Regions from separate parts of the Homo sapiens genome. Here region 1 is linked to region 2. The links are contacts of gene promoters, found by promoter capture Hi-C in human tissues and cell types (Jung and others, 2019). All regions are on one chromosome and are shown on one strand. The core of a region is centred on a gene start or on the middle of the fragment in contact, and the rest is flanking DNA. Distances in the headings are between cores, read along the strand shown. Region 1 overlaps LOC105371850 (a long non-coding RNA gene). Region 2 holds the start of TUBD1 (tubulin delta 1).

The links. Contacts are between HindIII fragments. The study calls those that stand out against the background at their distance.
Region 1: a fragment that was not itself captured here is called in contact with the fragment with the promoter of TUBD1 in region 2 in 1 of the 25 tissues and cell types used here (dorsolateral prefrontal cortex).

Annotation. Positions count from the first base shown.
Region 1 is chr17:60,405,138-60,409,369 of GRCh38, reverse strand. All of the region lies in intron 2 of LOC105371850 (a long non-coding RNA gene), which reads left to right. It also overlaps a transcript of USP32 not described here. Among named protein-coding and RNA genes, the nearest start is that of USP32, 15 kb to the right of the region's middle. The HindIII fragment of the contact is 3,269 bases long and covers 841-4,109 here.
Region 2 is chr17:59,890,804-59,894,504 of GRCh38, reverse strand. It overlaps TUBD1 (tubulin delta 1), which reads left to right and starts at 1,562. Exons shown (of 9, transcript NM_016261.4): 1 at 1,562-1,808; 2 at 3,464-3,674. The coding sequence starts at 3,503. It overlaps RPS6KB1 (ribosomal protein S6 kinase B1), which reads right to left and starts at 1,384. Exons shown (of 15, transcript NM_003161.4): 1 at 1,180-1,384. The coding sequence starts at 1,320. RefSeq lists a silencer at 967-1,166 and an enhancer at 1,357-1,636. The HindIII fragment of the contact is 25,982 bases long and covers 1-3,701 here.

The DNA of each region.
Region 1 (4,232 bases), core at 1,226-3,725, 510 kb before region 2:
GAAAAGTTTTGTTTTTGTTTTTGAGACGGAGTCTCGCTCTGTTGCATAGGCTGGAATGCTGTGGCATGATTTCGGCTCACTGCAACCTCCGCCTCCTAGGTTCAAGTGATCCTCCTGCCTCAGCCCCTCTAGCAGCGGGGATTACAGGCATGTGCCACCATGCCCAGCTAATTTTTGTATTTTTAGTAGAGACAGGGTTTCGCCATGTTGCTCAGGGTGGTCTTGAAGTCCTGGCCTCAGGTGATCCGTGCACCTCGGCCTCCCAAAGTGCTGGGATTACAGGCATGAGCCACTGTGCCCGGCTGAGAAAAGTTTTACTGTGAGTCAGCTGGCAAGGAAATAGGAGGAAATGCTCAGCTGTGTCTCCCCAAGCTGGGGTCTGGGTCATGTTTTATAAGCATAGGGTAGCAAGGTATTATCTGATTGGATCTTGCAATGAGGTGATGCCAGAAGGCATGATCTGACTGGATCCTGGCATGGGGTGATGTCAGAGTTTGATCTGATTGGATCCTGGATCAAACTATGTGGTGTCCACTTAGTTCCGTCTCTGCTCCTTGGTCTGAGCACTTAGATTCCCCCTATCGTTGCATGCTTGCTTCATCTGGGCATGCTCAGGTTACATAACCTTCAACCTGGGGAATCCATAGCAACTGAAAACTCACAACTTTGTTATATAAAAGTTGAGCCAGATTGGCCGGGCATGGTGGCTCATGCCTGTAATCCCAGCACTTTGGGAGGGTGAGGTGGGCAGATCATTTGAGGTCAGGAGTTGAAGACCAGCCTGGCCAACATGGTGAAACCCCATCTCTACTAAAAATACAAAAATTAGCTGGGCATGGTGGCATGCACCTATAATCCCAGCTACTTGGGAGGCGGAGGCAGGAAAATCGATTGAACCCGGGAGGCAGAGCTTGCAGTGAGCCAAGATCGTGCCACTGCACTCCAGCCTGGGGGACAGAGCGAGACTCTGTCTCAAAAAAAAAAGTTGAGCCAGATTGATACGATGTGGTTACAAGTTCAGATACTGTATTTTTCACCACTAGAAGTTCCATCTGGTTCTTTTTTCTTCTTTCCTCATTATATTCATGTTTTTCTTTAAATATAGTTATAATAGCTGTTTCATCATTCTTATCTGCTAATTCCATAATTTCTGTCATTTCTGGGTCCATGTCTGTCACCTGATTTTTCCCCCCTGCTTCTTGGTATAAATAGTAATTTTTTATTGGATCTCAGGATGTCACATTGTTTTTCTTTTTCTTTCTTTTTCTTTTTGAGATGGAGTCTCGCTCTGTACCCCAGGCTGGAGTGCAGTGGCGACATCTCAGCTCACTGCAATCTCCACCTCCCAGGTTCAAGCAATTATCCTGCCTTAGCCTTCCCAGTAGCTGGGACTATAGGCGCTCACCCCCACGCCCAGCTGATTTTTATATTTTTAGTAGAGACGAGGTTTCACCATGTTGGCCAGGCTGGTCTCGAACTCCTGACCTCAGGCAATCCGCCTGCCTTGGCCTCCCAAAGTGCTGGAATTACATGCGTGAGCCACTGCACCCGGCCTGTTTCTGCTTTTTTTTTTTTTTTTTTTTTTTTTGAGACAGAGGCTTGCTCTGTCGCCCAGGCTGGAGCACAGTGGCTTAATCTCGGCTCACTGTAACCTCCGCCTCCTGGGTTCAAGCAATTCTTCTGCCTCAGCCTCCTGAGTAGCTGGGATTACAGGCATGGACCACCACACCTGGCTAATGTGGATGTCACATTGTTGAATGTCTGTATTTTGTAGTCTTCCCTTAAAGAGTATAGGTCTTTGTTGTACCAGATTGTTAACTTACTTTTGGATTAGTTTGATGTTTTTGAGGCTAGTTTTTAAGCTTCATTAAGCAGTTCTAGCGTGTACTTTACTCTAGACCTAGTTTAGACCTTTTAGTAAGGTTTACCTCTGCTGCAGTCTCTCCTGAACATCTTGGGAGGTCACTAAGTTATTTCTACTCCAATTGGTCATAATTTGTATGTTTCCTAGCTCTGGGAATTGTTCAGTTACATCTCTTCAATTGTTCTTTGCTCAGTCTCCTGGAACTTAGCTCTACTTATGGCTACCTTAATATTCAGAAAAAACTCAAGATCCTATGCAAATTTCTGAAGGTTTTTGCATACCTTCTTCCTTTTTGGAATTTTGCACAGCAACTTCCACAGCTGCCTCAGGTTCCATGAACTCCAATCTGTGCGTCCTCAGTGAGATTGCCACATTCTGATTTTATGATCCAGATTGCACCCCTAGGCAAAAAGCTAGGAAAATCACAGAATTTACCTCATTTGTTTTCTTTATCTCAATGACGTCAGTTCTGCACTGCCAATTGTCCAACATCTGAAAACGGTTGTTCTGTATGTTTTGTCTAGCTTCCTAGGTGTGTATGGCAGAAGGGTTAATCTGGTCCCTTTTAACTCCATCATGATCAGAAACAAAAGTCCTCTGTTTCACTGAAATTTGATTAGCATGTCAGTCTTTGAGCAACTGATCAACCTTACAAAATGGAGTTTGAAAAAAGAAAGAAAGAAAGAAAGAAAGGCCAGGCGCAGTGGCTCATGTCTGTAATCCCAGTACTTTGGGAGGCTGAGGCAGGTGGATCACGAGGTCAGGAGTTTAAGACCAGCTTGATCAACATGGTGAAACCCTGTCTCTACTAAAAATACAAAAATTAGCTGGGCGTGGTGGCGCGTGCCTGTAATCACAGCTACTCAGGAGGCTGAGGCAGGAGAATCGCTTGAACCTGGGAGGTGGAGATTACAGTGAGCCGAGGTCATGCCATTGCACTCCAGCCTGGGTGACAGAGCAAGTCTCTGTCTCAAAAAAGAGAAAAAAAAGCAAAAGAAGAACTTCAATGTAGAATTTCAGAATAATGGGCCAGGTGCAGTGGCACACGCCTGTGATCCCAGCACTTTAGGAGGCTGAGGAGGGTGGATCACTTGAGGCCAGGAGTTTGAGACCAGCTTGAGCAACATGGCAAAACCCTTTCTCTACTAAACATACAACAATTAGCTGGGCATGGTGGCATGGGCCTGTAGTCCCAGCTATTTGGGAGGCTGAGGCAGGAGAATCGCTTGAACCCAGGAGGCGGAGGTTGCAGTGAGCTGAGATGGTCCCTGGATGACAAGAACAAGACTGTCTCCAAAAAAAAATTTTTTTTTTCAGAATAATAAGCTTTTTTTTTTTTTTTTTTTTTTGAGACAAGGTCTTGCACTGTCACCCAGGCTGGGGTACAGTGGTATGATCACGGCTCTCTGCAGCCTTGACCTCCTGGACTCAAGTGATCCTCCCAACTCAGCCTCCCAAGTAGCTGAGAATACAGGTGTGCACCAGTACACCTAGCTAAATTTAAAAAAGACATTTTGGAGAGGTGGCGTCTAACTATGTTTCCCAGGCTGGTCTCAACTCTGGGGCTCAAGCAATCCTCCCACACTGGCCTCCCAAAGTGCTGGATTACAGGAGTGAGCTTCTGCACCCAGCCAAATAATAACCTTTGAAAGAATAAAATTCTATGCACGATGGTTACGGATGAATTTATTAAATGGCCCTGAGGTGCCTTTTATTTATTTATTTAATTTTATTTTATGTTTTGAGACAGGATCTCACTCTGTTGCCCAGGCAGGAATGCAGTGGTGTGATCATGATTCACTGCAGCCTCCACCTCCCCAGGCTCAGGTGATCCTCCCACCTTAGCCTCTTGAGCAGCTGGGACTATAGGCAACATGCCACTAGGCCTGGCTAATTTTTGTATTTTTGTAGCGATGGGGTTTTGATATGTTGCCCATGCTGGTCTCGAATTCTTGGGCTCAAGCAATTCAACCGCATGATTTTAAAAATACTAACAGCTTCAGCCAGGCACAGTGGCTCATGCCTGTAATCCTAGCACTTTGGGAGGTTGAGGCGGGTGGACTGTCTGAGCTCAGGAGTTCGAGACCAGCCTGGGCAACACGGTGAAACCCCATCTCTACTACAATACAAAAAAAATTAGGTTGGCTTGGAGGTGTGTGCCTGTAATCCCAGCTACTTGGGAGGCTGAGACAGGAGAGTTGCTTGAACCCAGGAGGTGGAAGCTGTGGTGAGCCGAGATTGAGCCACTGCACTCCAGCCTGGGTGACAGAGCGAAACTCTGTCTCAAAAACAAAAACAAAAACAAAAAACTAACAGCTTCTATTTTTTGTTCTTTTTATTTTTGAAACAGTTTTGCTCTGTCGCCTAG
Region 2 (3,701 bases), core at 313-2,812:
GCCAGAGGAGAAAAACTGAGGGTGAGGCAAGGGAAAGGAAGCCCCTGTGTAATTAGAGCAAACATCTGACGTCATTAACCCATGTATTCAACTAGACATTGGAATTTAGATGCTAAACTACCAAGAGGTTATCAACTGATGATCATTTGGTCCAGGATCAGTGATTTAGTATGACAACATTTTTGAACTTCAGGTGCAATTTGTCATTTTTTGATAAATTTATCTAGGGAAAAAAAAAGTTATTCCATAAAGATTAACAAACCACTAAGCCAGCAGGGTGAAACCAAGCTATGCATTAGGAAATACAATTCTAAATTTAGCACCCTAAATTACAGCAAGGAAAGCCCTCATACCACCATTCACAAGTCTCTGTTCAGGCAACTTATTTCTGGCAAGCTAAATCAAGGCTGTCAACTGGTTTTTGGTTTTTTTTTCCACCTCAAAATTACATTAATTATTCTGAAAAAAATACAGACATCTTCAACTTGGGGAAAGGTTACAAGTGCCGTGTGTCCTTATAAATGCTTATTTTAAAAAGTCACACGGAAGGGGGTAAAAAAAAAAAAGCAAACAAACAAACCCTGGAAGATTGGAAGATGCAGCAGAGCCCCCTTGCTCCCGAAATAAAACTCCTGGTGGCTGTAACAGCAGCGGCAGTGCTACTCCCGACAGAAGTTTTCAGCTGTCACTTCTAACAGCTGAGCGCTTCCTAGGAGAGAAGCGACAGGCCGAGAAGAGAGGTGGTTGTGGGAGGTCTGAAGATTCAATACTTGAAATTCTAGACTCGAAGGGAAACCCTCCACACTTCGCCTGCACTTACGGGACACCCAGCAAGAGCAGCCCCCGTCTCCCCAACACACGCTCACGCCACCCGCTCCCCGCCACACTCAAGTCCAACAGCTCGAGGAATCGACCACGCGCCCGTTCTCTTTCCCTCTTCAGATCGCTCGGGGCTGCGCTGACCTGGGGCTAAGGGTGCGACCTGCACCTGCGAGCCCCGCAGAGGCCTCACACCTAGGGCCATGACCGCCCCGCCCGCTCCCCTGTCTCAGGCCGCGCGACCCTCAGCTCCTCAGGAGCCCCCCTGGGTCTCCACGCTCTAGGACACACCGCGCTTCCTGAGCCCGCGCCGCCGCCCCGGCCCTGTCACCTCGGGCCCCCGGGGACCCCGGGCCTCACCCCCTCCTCCAGCTCATCCTCAGAGCCCGCGTCCTCTGGCTGGTCCAGGTCTATGTCAAACACTCCTGCCATGTCCTCAGCTTCCCTGTCTCGGAAGTCCGGGGCTGGGTAAAAGCCGTCCCGCCTCCTTCGTCGCCTCATGGGCCCGGACCCGCCGCAGCCACCACAGCCGCTGCCGCCATCACCGGCTGCTTAGGCTCAGTGCGTCTGCGCCTAGGCCTTAGACTGGCTCCTAAAGTTCAGCGTAGGAGCATGCGTACAGGGTTCCGTGAAGCCAAACAGTGGGCAGTGGACATGCGCAGAACTATCGGCAGGATCCAGGCGCTGGCAGAAACATGCGCAAAACACCAGCCGAAGTCGCGCTTGGAGGACTAGAGCATGCGCATTGTCAGCTGGAGCGTTCGGTGGACAGTGAGCATGCGTACCATATCTGAAGTTCGTAAATTGAAATTGAACATGCGTAATTAATCTTTCTGAATAGGAAAAAATATATACACAACAAAACTCTCCGTTTATGGAACATGCGCATTTGTTCTCAGTAAGTTTTTCGTTTTGAAAGTGAGCATGCGCATGGTGAGTAGGTTGGTCCGAAGTTTGAACCGGACAGAAGCGCTGGTCGGCGTCTGGCGGTGAGTCGGGTTACGTGTGGAGAACTCCTGGGGCCCGTGGGGAACGGGGGACCTTTTGGCTTTGCTCTTTACTAGTTCTGTGGCCTTGGAAAAGTCAATAACCTTTCAGAGCCTCAGTTTCCTTATCTGTAAAATGAGGATAATAATAAACCTACTTTGCCGGTTTGACATTTTAAGCACAGAGTCTGTCTCACAACCCACGGCTCATTTCCAGTGCTGCATAGACCTGATGTGAAGTCTTTATCAAAACTTGTCTTTTCCTAGGTAAAAATAATGAGGAACTGCTCTAATGTTTCTTTTGCTTTCTTTCTTTTTCAAATGGAGACAGGGTCTCGCTGTGTTGCCCAGGCTGGTCTGGAATCCCTGGGCTCAGGTGATCCTCCCGCCTCGGCCTCCCAAAGTACTGGGATTACAGGCATGAGCCATTGCGCCCGGTTAATATTTCATCTGGTTTTCTTTCTCCAAGCTGCATCTTTCTTGCTGTCCTACCTGAGCTAAACACAAAATCTTTCTTACAGGTCTTACTAAAGTTACCAGGCTAGACTAGTGGAGAAAGCGTAAGCTATTATTTAGAAGAGAGAAAATTAATGTTAATTGAATGTACAATGTTGAGCACACTTCTGTGTTCTACATGTTCATGTGGTGTGAAGGGTGGTACTACTAATTTCTTCAATCAGCATTTGTTTTGTCTTGTTTTTATTTTTTTAATTTTAATTTTTTTTTTTTCTGGAGACAGGAGGATGTCACTTTGTCACCCAGGCTGGAGTGCGGTGGCAAGATCTTGGCTCACTGCAGCCTGGACCTCCCAGGCTCAGGGGATCCTCCCACCTCAGCCTCCCGAGTAGCTGGGACTGCAGGCGCACACCACCACGCCAAGCTAATGGTTGTATTTTTTGTACAAACAGGGTTTTGCCATGTTGACCAGGTCTGGAACAGCCAGGCTCACGTGATTCTCCCAACTCAGCCTCCCAAAATGCTGGGATTACAGGTGTGAGCCACGCACCCAGCCTCTTTTTTTCTTTTATCACTCCTCAACTGAGGAGAATGTTTTGTTTTAAACATATGTTTAGGAAAAAAGTGATTACAAATCAGATTTTGGAAACTATTGAGCTGTGTATGAATGGATTCAGGTACAGTAAATCACAAATCCCAAAACCATGTAGAGAGTATGAGAACTTCCTTGAATGACTAGCTCCTTAGACAACACAGCTGTTCTATCTCCAATATTATATACGTATGTGGCATTTTAAAATGACTTTTTGGGCCGGGCGTGGTGGCTCAAGCCTGTAATCCCAGCACTTTGGGAGGCTGAGGTAGGTGGAGGTGGATCACGAGGTCAAGAGTTCAAGACCAACCTGGCCAACATGGTGAAACCCCATCTCTACTAAGAATACAAAAATTAGCCAGGCGTGGTGGCACGTGCCTGTAATCCCAGCTACTCGGGAGGCTGAGGCAGGAGAATCGCTTGAACCTGGGAGGCGGAGGTTGCATTAAGCCGAGAACATGCCACTGCACTCTAGCCTGGGTGACAGAACAAGACTCCGTCTCAGGGGGGAAAAAAGACTTTTTATTGATGTATAATTAACATACATGGCATTTTATTTGTTCTTATTAGTAATGTAGTGGTTCTCAAAGCGTATTTTTTTCGATTACAGGTTGTTTTTAGAGGTAATACACCTAGTTTGTGGCTCAGCATGTCAATTGTAACAGTGCAACTTGGTCAGTGTGGCAATCAGATTGGTTTTGAAGTTTTTGATGCTTTGCTTAGTGACTCACACAGTTCCCAGGGACTCTGCTCTATGAGAGAGAATGAGGCATATCAAGCATCTTGCAAAGAAAGATTCTTCAGTGAGGAGGAGAATGGAGGTAGGTGTGGCCCACAGTCCTCTCCTT